4 separate regions of the Homo sapiens genome follow, and regions 1, 2 and 3 are each linked to region 4. The links are contacts of gene promoters, found by promoter capture Hi-C in blood cells and fetal thymus (Javierre and others, 2016). All regions are on one chromosome and are shown on one strand. Each heading gives the region's core, a stretch centred on a gene start or on the middle of the fragment in contact. The rest is flanking DNA. Distances are from core to core; before and after follow the strand shown.

What was found. Contacts are between HindIII fragments. The CHiCAGO score rates a contact against its expected background, and 5 or more counts as called.
Region 1: a contact is called between a fragment that was not itself captured here and the fragment with the promoter of C9orf78 in region 4, in 12 of 17 cell types (total CD8 T cells, activated CD4 T cells, naive CD4 T cells and 9 more). The highest score is 10.4, in total CD8 T cells.
Region 2: a fragment that was not itself captured here is called in contact with the fragment with the promoter of C9orf78 in region 4 in 2 of 17 cell types (total CD8 T cells and naive CD4 T cells); the score reaches 7.2 in total CD8 T cells.
Region 3: a contact is called between a fragment that was not itself captured here and the fragment with the promoter of C9orf78 in region 4, in 4 of 17 cell types (total CD8 T cells, naive CD8 T cells, naive CD4 T cells and 1 more). The highest score is 7.2, in total CD8 T cells.

What each region holds. Positions count from the first base shown.
Region 1 is chr9:130,077,461-130,080,837 of GRCh38, reverse strand. It overlaps GPR107 (G protein-coupled receptor 107), which reads right to left. Exons shown (of 18, transcript NM_020960.5): 5 at 1,069-1,208. Among named protein-coding and RNA genes, the nearest start is that of GPR107, 25 kb to the right of the region's middle. The HindIII fragment of the contact is 1,634 bases long and covers 829-2,462 here.
Region 2 is chr9:129,989,240-129,992,256 of GRCh38, reverse strand. All of the region lies in intron 2 of FNBP1 (formin binding protein 1), which reads left to right. Among named protein-coding and RNA genes, the nearest start is that of FNBP1, 52 kb to the left of the region's middle. RefSeq lists enhancers at 10-59, 70-119 and a silencer at 2,193-2,487. The HindIII fragment of the contact is 5,563 bases long and covers 1-3,017 here.
Region 3 is chr9:130,021,826-130,024,912 of GRCh38, reverse strand. The region is part of intron 1 of FNBP1 (formin binding protein 1); the gene reads left to right. Among named protein-coding and RNA genes, the nearest start is that of FNBP1, 20 kb to the left of the region's middle. RefSeq lists a silencer at 742-892 and an enhancer at 2,228-2,347. The HindIII fragment of the contact is 1,477 bases long and covers 850-2,326 here.
Region 4 is chr9:129,833,371-129,836,694 of GRCh38, reverse strand. It overlaps C9orf78 (chromosome 9 open reading frame 78), which reads left to right and starts at 1,420. Exons shown (of 9, transcript NM_016520.3): 1 at 1,420-1,556; 2 at 1,929-1,988; 3 at 2,986-3,037; 4 at 3,178-3,248. The coding sequence starts at 1,474. USP20 (ubiquitin specific peptidase 20) reads right to left here and starts at 1,237. Exons shown (of 26, transcript NM_001110303.4): 1 at 1,196-1,237. RefSeq lists an enhancer at 487-987 and silencers at 959-1,108, 1,139-1,488. The HindIII fragment of the contact is 4,419 bases long and covers 1-3,266 here.

The DNA of each region.
Region 1 (3,377 bases), core at 396-2,895, 240 kb before region 4:
GGAGAAAAAGTACAGTCTCAGTAATAAGAGTAAATATAAATAAACAGGGCCGGGCGCAGTGGCTCACGCCTGTAATCCCAGCACTTTGGGAGGCCGAGGCGGGCGGATCACGAGGTCGGGAGATCGAGACCATCCTAGCTAACACCGTGAAACCCTGTCTCTACTAAAAATACAAAAAATTAGCCGGGCATGGTGGCGGGCGCCTGTAGTCCCAGCTACTTGGGAGGCTGAGGCAGGAGAATGGCGTGAACCCGGGAGGCGGAGCTTGCAGTGAGCCGAGATTGCGCCACTGTACTCCAGCCTGGGCGACAGAGCGAGACTCCGTCTCAAAAAATAAATAAATAAATAAATAAATAAATAAATAAACAGGAATACCTTTTTTGCCTTTCATTTTAGGATTTTGTTTTTTGAAAAGAAAATACCCCATATTGGCTAGGACATGATAATGTGCCCACTATTCCTACATATTTCTGATAAGAATATAAATCCACACAACTCATTTGGAAAGGAATTTAAAAATATACATCAATATTCTCAAATGCATTCATATCCTTTGAACCAGAAATTGCAATTCTGAAAACCATCTTAAAGAACGTTCGCTATACGAAGACAGTTCTATGCATAAAGAAGTCCACTGCAGCAATATTCATAATCACACAAAAATGGAAATGTGTCTCCTTAAGGGGAAAGGTTGAGCAAATTACAGTATCTGCTTAACAGGATATATGATAGGTATGAAATGGGCTAAAAAGTAATCAGGCATGTATATAAAATTATAAGCATGACTGAATTTTAAAAATCAAATGTTCTAGACTTATGAAACAAGCTTATAAGAAAACATAAATTACTAAAATTCTAACACTGGGAATAAGGAGAAATGACTGTTGTTTTTCCATCTGCTTCAGATTTTCCACATTTTTCTTTAACATTTACGTATTTTTGTGTAACTTCCAAAATATAATGCTAAGACGACAACAGATCATGTTTTACTTTTACTTTTAATTAGGAACAAAAAAGCTACAAAGCAGGTAGTGAAAACTGAAAGCCAGTTTCCACCTTACGGTTTACCTTGTGTCTTCTGGGTCTGGTTGCCTGCTGAAGCAGGGTTAACATTAGGCTCCTGGCTCTGACCAAGGACTTTCTCATCCCTGCTGAAGATGATCTTTGGTAACTGGGTACCAGCTTCTGGTGGAGACTTTACTCTTACCCTACATTCAAATAAGACAGAAGGAAAAAAGGTCAAAGCAGTGCTCCTGGCCACTGAGCACGCTGCGTGTAGGCCCTGTGCCAAGCTCATGCAGTCCTTATCATGTTCTACAATGTAGATTCTATTATCCACATTCTACAGATACCAAAACTGAGGCTCAGAAACGTTAAATAACTTGCCCAAGGGCACCAAGCTAGGAAGTAGTTGGACGAGGATCCAGGTAGTCTCTCTTAAGCCTAAGATCTTAGTAACCACACAATTCTGAGGTACATCTTTCTCCTTAAGTATCGTTAAAATGCTCAGCAAATTGGTGCACAAGAGAAACGGACAAAATGTAAAACATCAGTAAGACTTTAAAGTGAAATCCAGGCCAGGCATGGTGGCTCACGCCTGTAATCTCAGCACTTTGGGAGGCTGAGGCGGGTGGATCACTTGAGGTCAGGAATTCAGGAACAGCCTGGCCAACATGGCAAAACCCTGTCTCTACTAAAATTACAAAAAAAAACTGGCCGGGTGTGTTGGCATGCACCTGTAATCCCAGCTACTTGGGAGGCTAAGGCAGGAGAATCGCTTGAACCTGGGAGGTGGAGGATGCAATGAGCCAAGATCGTGCCACTGCACTCCAGCCTGGGCCACAGAGCGAGACCCCGTCTCAAAAAATAAAGAAAGCAAGTGAAATCCAGGGAAGCACGAGAGGGCAGTGGCACTGTTAGTTGCCTCCTAATATCCATTTCCACCCTTCCCCCTTCTCATGAGACCCAATTTTGTTTACCCCATCCCACCCAGGAGGGGCCAGTGACAGTTCCCATGACTGAGTGGATGCCCAACCTAAGCTGGCACATTCAAGCACTTCTCATTCTACCTGGAGGAGGAGCCTGCTCTCTGTCCCTTGGCTGGATATGAATGATGGAGCAGAGCCACCTTGTGATGGCTGGGAAACCTGCCTGAGGAAGAAGCTAACACTCAGGATGGCAGAGCAGAAAGATGAAATGCACCAGAGTCCCTAACATCAGCAAGCCACCGCAGGCCTGTCTCTCGCCTGCCCCACTGCACATAGGTGAGGTAATCAATGTCTTCACTATTCACGCCAGAGTCTAAGTCAAGTCTTTTGTTGCTTGCTTCCAAAAGTAGACTGACCAATACAGGAGACTGTCAGATCAATCTTCTTAAATGAAAACAGAGGTTATCACGGAGAATATTTTAAAAGTTAGGGTCTACAATGGTTTTATGACAAAGCATTTTTTTTTTAGAAGCTTATTCATTAGTCTTCTTACCTCCAGTCTTGTTCATCTCAAATCCATCCTCTTCTGGGCTGCTAGGAGTCTACCTTACAGGCAAGTCTGAGCACATGATTCCTACCTTAAAGGCTCCCTCAGCAATTACAAAGTACGCAGTTGGAAGTATGCTGAACTTGAAAACACAAAGTCTGATAATTCATCAAAGTTCAACATTTTTTTTTTTTTTTTGAGACGGAGTCTCACTCTCTCACCCAGGCTGGAGTGCAGTGGCGCGATCTCGGCTCACCGCAAGCTCCGCCTCCTGGGTTCACACCATTCTCCTGTCTCAGCCTCCCGAATAGCTGGGACTACAGGCGCCCACCACCACGCCCGGCTAATTTTTTGTATTTTTAGTAGAGACGGGGTTTCACTGTTTTAGCCAGGATGGTCTCAATCTCCTGACCTCGTGATCCGTCCGCCTCGGCCTCCCAAAGGGCTGGGATTACAGGCATGAGCCACCATGCCCGGCCTCAACATTTTCAAAGAGGCTGAATTGTCAGAAATCCTCACCAACAATCTCATGAGGCAGATACCATCATCACGAAGTAGGTAAGGACACTGAGGCCCGGAGTCACAGGGCTGGTGAGTGGCAGAAGCCATTACGTGGACCCAGTCTTGTTTCCACTCTGCCTTTGCATAGACTATGCCCTCTGCCTGGAATGCTTTACTTATTCATCTGGTAAAAGGCTACTCACTAGAAAGCTGCTTGGGCCAACACTTATCTGAAGCCTCTCCTTCCTTTCTACAATTCATGAGTTCTTCCCTTCCACTTCTCTGTTTGGCGGTGATCATGTGTATTTCCGTTCTGTCTCTCCCATCAAGGACAGGACCTCTGTCTCCCTAGCCTTGTCTTGAATCTCCAGCACTCAGCACGGTCTCTGGCACATGGCAGA
Region 2 (3,017 bases), core at 408-2,907, 160 kb before region 4:
TCATGTGAAAATGGGCTACGTGCGAGCTCTCAAGCGGGCTACTGGTATTCTTCCCACGACAGTCTCCCTTGCTGGCCCCTGCTCTTCCCCTGCCTCTTCACATTGCTGTGCCCAGCATCTGCTTCTCAGTCCTTCTCCCTTCCCAGTCTGTACTCTCCTGGTGACCTCAACTGTCTCATGGCTTTAGGTATAATCCATATGGCAATGACTCACAGATATGGATCTCTAAGCCAGACCTCTCTCCTGAATTCCAGAAACAGCTTGCTCAAAGTCTCCACTTAGAAATGTCTAAAAACTTGGCTGGGCGCGGTGGCTTATGCCTGTAATCCCAGCACTTTGGGAGGCTGAGGCGGGCGGATCACGAAGTCAGGAGATCGAGACCATCCTGGCTAACACGGTGAAACCCCATCTGTACTAAAAATACAAAAAATTAGCTGGAAATGGTGGCGGGCGCCTGTAGTCCCAGCTACTTGGGAGGCTGAGGCAGGAGAATGGCATGAACCCAGAAGGCAGAGCTTGCCGTGAGCCAAGATCACACCACTGCACTCCAGCCTGGGCGACAGAGTGAGACGCCATCTCAAAGAAAAAAAAAAAAAAGGAAATGTCTAAAAACCATCTGAAATGATCTGAAATGTAACATGTCTGAAACTGAACTCCGGATCTCCCCAACTTAAAAATCCACATGTCTAGGCCAAGTGAAGTGGCTCACACCTAAAATCTTAGCACTTCAGGAGGCCGAGGTGGGTACTTGAGCCCAGGAGTTGGAGGCCAGCCTGAGCAACATAGCGAGACCCTGCCTCTAAAAAGAATTTTAAAAAATTAGCCAGGCATGGTGGCGCACACCTGTAGTCCCAGCTACTTGAGAGGCTGAGGAGGGCGGATGCTTGAGCCCAAGACGCTGGGGCTGCAGTGAGCCATGATTGCACTACTGCACTCCAGCCTGGGCAACAGAGCAAGACCCTATCTCAAAAAAAAAAAAAATCTGCATTTCCACGACCTAGATTTTCCTCCACTCACCTGAGGGTAGCTGCATCCTTCCTGGTTTAGGTCAAAAACCCTAGCATCACCCAGGTGCAGGGGGATCACTGGAGGTCAAGAGTTCAAGACCAGCTGACTAACATGGTGAAACCCTGTCTCTACTAAAAATACAAAAACATTAGCCAGGCGTGGTGGTGGGCGCCTGTAATCCTACCTACTCAGGAGGCTAAGGCAGGAGAATCCCTTGAACCCAGGAGGCAGAAGTTGCAGTAAGCTGAGATTGTGCCACTGCACTCCAGCCTGGGTGACAGAGCAAGACTCCATCTCAAAAAAAAAAAAAAAAAAACCCTGGTGTCATCATCATCTCTGTCTGCCTTCTTTTCTCACACACTCACACTCCCCAGCTCAAGCCATCAGGAAATCTTGACTTCTCTACAGATTTATCCAGGATCTGACACTTGTTATCACCTCCACTGCTGCCACTGTGGTCCATGTCACATGGCCTACGTGGTCCATGATCTTTTGCCTGGTTATGATGAGTCTACTAACTAGTTTCCCTTATTCTACCTCTATCCCCTATTCCCTGATTTCTACAGAGCAGCCAGATTACAGTATTCCTCTGTTCAAAATTCCAGTGCGTCCCCATTTCATTCAGAGTAAATCCAAAAACCTTACGGTGAAAGTCCTCCAAAACCTTGTATAATCTGGTTCCCACACCTTTCTGACATCATCTGTTTTAACTCTCTTCCTCCTCCTCTCTGCTGTAACCATACAGAGGCCTCCTTCCTGTTTTTTGTACATGCCAGGCATCCCCTCACCCGAGAGCTATTGCGCTAGCCCTTCCATGTAGATATCACCTATGTGTTCTTCCCCAGGCTCCAAGTGGCTGACTCCCTCTCCTGCTTCCAGTTTCTGCTCAGTGAGGCCCACCTCGTCCCTTAGCCCACTTAGCCTGCTTTGCTTTTTCAGTTTTCCTATATTACTGGTAACTTTCTACCATTTTATATAGTTTTCTTGTTTAGTTTTGAAAATTGACAAAATATGTATTTCTATATTATTTGTATATAAAATTGTATATATTTATGGTATACATGATGTCTTGAAATATGTATACGCTGCAGAATGCCCAAATCAGGCTAATTAACATATGCATTACTACTCAAACTTAATATTTTTTTTGTGGGAAGAACATTAAAATCTACTCTTCTAGCAATTTAGCAACCCCTCCCCTCCCCTCCCCTTCCCTCTTTCTTGAGACAGGGTCTCACTCTGTCACCCTGGGTGGAGTGCAGTGGCACGATCTTGGCTCACCTCCCGGGCTCAAGTGAACCTCCCACCACAGCCTCCCAAGTAGCTGGGACCACAGGAATGCGCTGCCACACCCGGCTAATTTTTGTATCTTTTGCAGAGACAGAATTTCACCATGTTGCCCATGCTGGTCTTGAACTTCTAGGTTCAAGCGATCCTCTGACCGAGGCCTCCCAAAGTGCTGGGATTACAGGTGTGAGCACCCGGCCTGGCAATTTTCAAGTATACAATACATTGTTATTAACTGGAGACACAATGTTGTACAATAGATCTCTTGAACTTATTTCTCCTACAATTTTGCCTCATTTGAATAACATCTCCCCAAACCTTCCCAGAGAAATCTGGGTATTATATTTACTGCGCATTGTCTCCTGCAGCCTCTCAGCTAGAATGCAAGCCCCTTAAGGGTGGAGATCTTTGGGTTGTGCTCACTAATGTGTCATAGTGCAGAACAGTGCCTGGCACATAGTAGGTGCCCAGTAAATATTTGTAGATTGTGAGTGAATCGGTAGGGTACAGGCCTAAGATATTTAGCCAGCTTTGCTTTATGGGGAATTATGTGTTTGCACCGGCCTGTGAGAGCTGATGAGATTTTAACAACAAAAAGTAGAACAACAAGGTGCCAGCCGAGTTTCAATCACTAGGGATGCTTGAATGAACGAGACACAGGAAGTGCCTGAACCTGGAGTGCTCACCTTTCACAGCAGAAAACAGAACTGCATGCAAATTAG
Region 3 (3,087 bases), core at 339-2,838, 190 kb before region 4:
CCGCCTGGCATCAGGGAGTAGTTTGCTGAACAGAAACCTTTTGGCTAAGGTTTATTGTTTATTTTGTCAGTTTGGCAGATCAGCAAGTGAGTAAGGTAGATAAACAATGTCATTGCAGAAAAATTTTAGGCAGTCAAGTGCTTTATTTGCCAAAAAGATTCAACCACCTGATGGAAATGAAAAACAGGATGATACGATGGCTTCTTCCTTCACTTTCTCACTTTCCTTGGATTATGAAATGCCAGTAATTGAGAAAGCGGAATGAACAGTCATTAGAGATGGAAGAAAACCCTAGAGAGAAGTTGGAAGTAGTTGGGTGGGATAAAGACTTTCTGATAACTTCAAGCAGATCTAGAAATTGGCATTGGATTGTTAGAGAAAAATTGAAAATGTAAAATGTTAGTTGCATGAGTGGGCAACAGATACTCTCCATTAGCAGTGTTCAATTACGTGTCACCAATGTGCAATAGTCTGAGACAGGCAGGGTCTTGCTCTGTCACCCAGGCACTGTCAGAGCTCACTGCAGCCTCAACCTCCTGGCCTCAAGCCATCCTCCCACTTCAGCCTCCCCAGTAGCTAAGACTCAGGTGCACACTACCACGCCCAGCTAATTTTTTAATTTTGTAAATTTCTTATTTATTATTATTTCCTGTTTTTTTGGGGGGGGTAGAGATAGGATCTCACTATGTTGCCCAGGCTAGCCTTGAACTCCTGGCCTCAAGTGATCCTCCTGCCTCAGCCTCCCAAAGTGTTGGGATTACTTACAGGCATGAGCCACTGAGCCTGGCCAAGTTCTGTTTATTTAGATAATATTTGCTTGTAGTATGGACCCCACCCAGCTCACAAGCTTGGGGTGAGGGACCTGGGGGTTAAATGACGGCAAATGTAAGCCAACCTAAAGGTTATATGTATGTTGATTCTTCAGATGTGGCCGAGATCAGGCAAGGCAGCTCACAGGGAGAGTAAAGGGTACTATTTTATACACTAGGTACTTGGTAACCAGTCTGAATTGTGGGCCAGTCCTAGGGACATGGGGCAAAAGTAAAGAAAGGAAAGGAAAAAAGACTAGAGGGAAATGTAGGATACACTCACGTGGATGGAAGATTGAGTCCAGGGAAACTGAGTAAGATGCCAAATGCTCACGATAAAAGGATGACGTTTCCATGGGATCCTGTAGGCATCACCGAGAGGGTACTGTTGGGAGAACACTTAGGAACCCAGATCACCTAACATGGAGTGAGTGGGGCTCAGATCTGAGCAGAAACCCAACAAGGACTTCCCAACTCCAAGTAAAGCTAAATTTAGACAATCCTTTTATGTTGCTGGTCCCTCTTGCAACACAGTCTCCTCCGGCCAGGCTGCCTTCTCCTTCTTTATATGCACCAGCCTTCTTCCACCTCAGGGCTTTGAACTCCTTTATCCCAGCTCTGCCTTGCCCTTGGCCGGGGAAGTCTCTAGCCCTAGGTGCTTCACCTTCAGCTAACCCTATTGTGTGCAATCCCGACCTCCTGGCTCTCTCTAAAGTCAGTTACACACGCCAGTGAGCTCTGAGGGTTCAGCCAAGATTGAATACACTCTGTTAAAGAAGGGGAATTGGGGGAAAAGCCAGATTTTAAAAGCATGATTTATTTCTTACTTGTTTATGTATTTTTGAATAGGCCACACCTGGTGTGTGACTGCCCCAGTCATTAGGGGATTTTTTTTTTTCTTCCCTGGAGGCAACCACCATAACTGGTTTCTTGTGAATTCTTCCAGAGAGCTATCAAGCATTTATGAGTAAATTCCCCCCTCCCTTACAAATGTTAGCATACTAGTCACACTTTTTGGTACCTTTTACCACTTATAATATCTTGGTGGGGGTTTCTTTTCCTTAGCCGCCTCATTCTTCTTAATGTAACTATTAATCCTTCTTCTGTTTTTTGTTTTTGTTTTTTGACAGGGTCTTGCTTTGTTGCCCAGGCTAGTCTCAAACTCCTGGCCTCAAGCAGTCCTCCTGCCTCAGCCTCCTGAAGTGCTGGGATTACACTGGGCAACACGGCCAACCCCTGTCTCTATCAAAACAAAAACAAAAATTAGTTGGGCGTGCTAACGCACACCTGTAGTCCTAGGTACTTGGGAGGGTGAGGTGGGATGATCACCCGAGCCTGAGGAGATCAAGGCGGCAGTGAGCGGTGATTGAGCCACTGCACACCAGCATACTGCACACCAGGCCACAGAGTGAAACCCTGTCTCAAAAAAAAAAAGAGCGAGTGTTGGTATTTGTGTGAAATTTTTATTGAGGATATTAAGACAAAGTGTTGATGTTCTATACTTTGAACCCAAAGCTTTGTAACTCATTTTCTACTTGTAACTATGTAAAATATGCCTGCTTAGTATACCAAACAGTATTCTTAACTGTATTCTTAAGGTCGGGCACGGTGGCTTACCCCTGTAATCCCAGCACTTCGGAAGGCCGAGGTGGGTGGATCACCTGAGGTCAGGAGTTCAAGACCAGCCTGGCCAACATGGTGAAACCCTATCTCTACTAAAAATACAAAAAAATTAACCGGGCATCTTGGCGCGTGCCTGTAATCCCAGCTACTCAGGAGGCTGAGGCAGGAGAATTGCTTGAACCCAGGAGGCAGACATTGCAGTGAGCTGAGATCGCGCCACTACACTCCAGCCTGGTGATAGAGTGAGACTCCGTCTCAAAAAAAAAAAAAAGTTAATTTTATGTTAGATGAATTTCACCTCAAATTAAAAAGAAGAGAAAGAGGCTGGGTGCAATGGCTCACGCCTGTAATCCTAGCACTTTGGGAGGCTGAGGCGGGTGGATCACTTGAGCCCAGGAGTTTGAGACCAGCCTGGCCAACATGGTGAGACCTTGTCTCTACAAAAATACAAGTTAGCCAGGCATGGTAGCCTGCACCTGTGGTCCCAGCTACTTGGGAGGCTTAGGTGGGAGGATCACCTGAGCCCAGGAGGTCAAGGCTGTAGTGAGCCAAGATAGCACCACTACACTCCAGCCTGGGCAACAGAGCAAGACCTTGTTTCAGGAAAAAACAACAGGTTAGTACTGGGCATCTTAGCTATCTCTTAGACGACAAA
Region 4 (3,324 bases), core at 171-2,670:
TTTTCCAGCCCAAGGAAGAGAAGAACAATCTCAGTGGAGACTGTTCCAGAGAAAACGTAAGGCATTCTAGAAATGCTGCCCTGCTTCGGAATGGTCTTCCAGAAAGGGGAACCCCAGACAGCCCCCATCGGCCCCTCCCCCTAGCCAATGAGATGTAACAGCAGCTGCAGCAGCAGCAAACATCTACTGCACTCCTACCGTGCCAGGCCCTGTGCAAACCGTGCGGCAGAGACTGACCTGCAACCAATTCCTGTTCCACCTCCTAGCTGGGTAACTTGAGGCGTGCACTGCCCCTCGGAGACTCCGCATTCTCATTTGTAAAACGAAAAACAATCTACCTCAAAGGATTGCTGGGAGAATTCAATGAGATGATGCTTTGCCCAGGGCCTGCCACATAGTAACTGCTTAATAAGAGGTAGTTCTCAAAGTAAGGGATGACACTGAGAAAAGGAAAACTACTGTTACTTAAGGGGTTCTTAAAAGTCCTAGAAGCCATTATTTATGCATTTAGGTATTTCCTAAGCGTTTGCTGATACCAGTTTTTCAAATAAACTTTATCCTCACAGCATCTTCGGGGTGGAAGGGGCAGAGGGTAGAGCGACAGACCTGCCGAAGGAGGAAAACCAGACCCGTGAAGGTCCAGGGGGGTGGCCGGCAAGCACCGAGGAGGAGTCCCCCGGCTCAAACCCTCTTGCGTGGCTTCAAAACATCAGACGCGCCTCTCCTCGCGGAGAAGCTGGGGGCCATTATTTGTGAGGCAGTCGGCGCTGGGACTCTAAGTCAGCACCGCAGAGAAGTGGTCATCTTTTGTTCCGAAAGAAAAAAACGCACGTCAGGGCTCAGAGCCCGAGGAAAGAAAAGTCAGCGCCCGAGACGCGAGACGCCACGCGGATGCTTTCAACGCTAGGTCAGGCCCCGGCAGAAATGAGAGGGGGGCGGCCCCGGTTCTGGAGAAGCCACGAGCCCCCAGGGAGCTCAGAGTGGGGTGGTGCTGGGGCCCAGAGGCCCCCCTGGGCGCCGACCGGAGGAGGGGAGAGGGGCGGCGGCGGCCGGGGGGGTCCCGGGCTCCGCTCACCGGGCCGCTGCGTCTGGCGTACCTGGCGAAGCCAGGCCCTGTCAGCCCGGAGCCGGGCTGGGGTCGCCAATGCTCAGAGGCCCGGCCCACAGAAGCAGCCGGTGGCGGCCCGGAACTCACCTGCACTCGCAACTGCGCCGCCGCCGCCTGTCAGTCAAGCGCGCCCCCTCTGAGGCGACGCGCAGGGTTGTGGGGCCGTCTGGCGACGCCCCACCTCCTTCCCTCTGCCGTCCAATCGGAAGAGGCTGACGCCAGGAGAGGGGGCGTGGCCACGCGGACTGTGCGTGCCGGGGGCGGGGCCAGACGGGGCAGGCGCTCTGACCGCTCTGCCGCGCGCCGGAAGCAGCCTGGGCCGCTGCGCAGAGGCGCGGCGGCTGTACAACTCGGCCGTTGTCACCATGCCGGTCGTCCGGAAGATTTTCCGTCGCCGCCGGGGCGACTCGGAGTCAGAGGAAGATGAGCAGGACTCAGAGGAGGTTCGGTGCGTTTGGGGCGGGGCTCCCATAGGCTTGGTAAAGATAGACTTGTTTGGGGGACTCACCACCGGCTCGGCGCTTCGCTGACATTGTTAACTGTGAGCTCGGGTGGTGGTTCCTTCTGCGGACGCAGAAATTGAGGCTCAAGGGGTGAGGCCACCGCCCCAAGCTCGAACGGTTGAGAGAGATGCCTCCGGGATGCGCAGTGGCTCTGACTCCCGGTGGGTCTAGGCACAAGGTCGTCCTCTGGACCACTGTGCTGGTGGCTCAGTAGCTGGGCTGGGATGCCCTCGAAGGTGCCTTATTGGCTCTGTTAGCTTTGGATTCCGCGGGGAATCACTCAGCTTATGCATTGCTGCTTCTTCTTCTTTTTAAAGATTAAAACTGGAAGAGACCAGAGAGGTACAGAACTTGAGGAAGAGGCCCAACGGGGTGAGGTGGGTACCACGCGGGGAGGAGGAGGAGGCGGCGGGGACGACAGACACATCCGCGTCCGGGTCGCTGTCACAAATATCTCCTCAGACGTAGATTTTTCTCTTGACACACTGTACACCTTCCACTGCCCAACTTGGAGAACAGCGTTCTTTGCAAATGTTTAACCAGGACATGCCCTGAGCTGTGTCGTCTCGGGGTGTGCTCCAGAGATACAGAAACAGATCACTAACTCGCGTTTTTTATTAAAACCAATTAATTGTGAAATGCATATCGATCGTTAAGAGTTTGTATAATTTAGAAAAGTATAGTCAAGACGATAAAAAGCACCCATAATTCTCCCATCCGGAAATGATCAGTGTTAACATTTTTTTTCCTTGCAGAGCCACCCAAGAATGCACTGGTATTAATATTGAATACTCTTTCCAATCTGTTTTTTTTCGTCTCTCTCTCTCAGATTGTGAACAACTTTCTATGTACTTTTATTCCCTGTTCTTTTCAACTCATTATGACATTGTGGGCATTCACCCATATTGTGGAATATTTTTCAGAAAGCCTTAATGGCTGCATAATATTCCACCAGATGTGTGTATTGTAATTTGTTAACAAATCCCCTATTTTGGGACATGTAGGTGATTTTGTAAATTTTTACTATCAAATAAGGCTGCAGTGGATATTCTCTTAAATTTATCTTTAGCTGCACTTTCCATGATGAGAATATCTTAGAAATGAGATTTCCAGGCCAAGATAATGCCAAATGGCTTTACAGGAAAGTGGCAAAGTGTACCACTTCACCACCAGCGCACCCTTCTTCCAGCATCTGCGGTGCTCGTTGAGCCCTGTCTTATGCTTATAGGCTTTTCCAGCCGGCTTGCCTACCCACCCCTCAAATCCCACCCTTGCACTAATGTTGCAATCCGCATACCTGAGAGGGTTCCTCCTTATCTCTGAATTATGCCATTTCTCTCTCTCCCCCTCTCTTTTTTTTTTGGTTTTGCTCAGTGCTGTGGCCTTGCTGGTGGGAGAGAAGGTACAAGAGGAGACCACTCTAGTGGTAAGTTATGGGGTCTTCCCTGAGTAGTTATGGCAGCCCTCCCTGCAGTGCTCTTCAGTGAGTGAGCGTGCTTCACAAAAAAAAAAATTCCACTACCATGTATTTAGATGCTTCCTCTTAACTGTGTTTGCTTTCTGCAGGATGATCCCTTTCAGATGAAGACAGGTGGTATGGTGGATATGAAGAAACTGAAGGAAAGGGGCAAAGATAAGTAAGTTCAGGACAAGCTTAGATGCAAATTCACCTTTAGCGGCTGCCTGGGTCTAGGTTCCCTCAGAGAGCTGGGG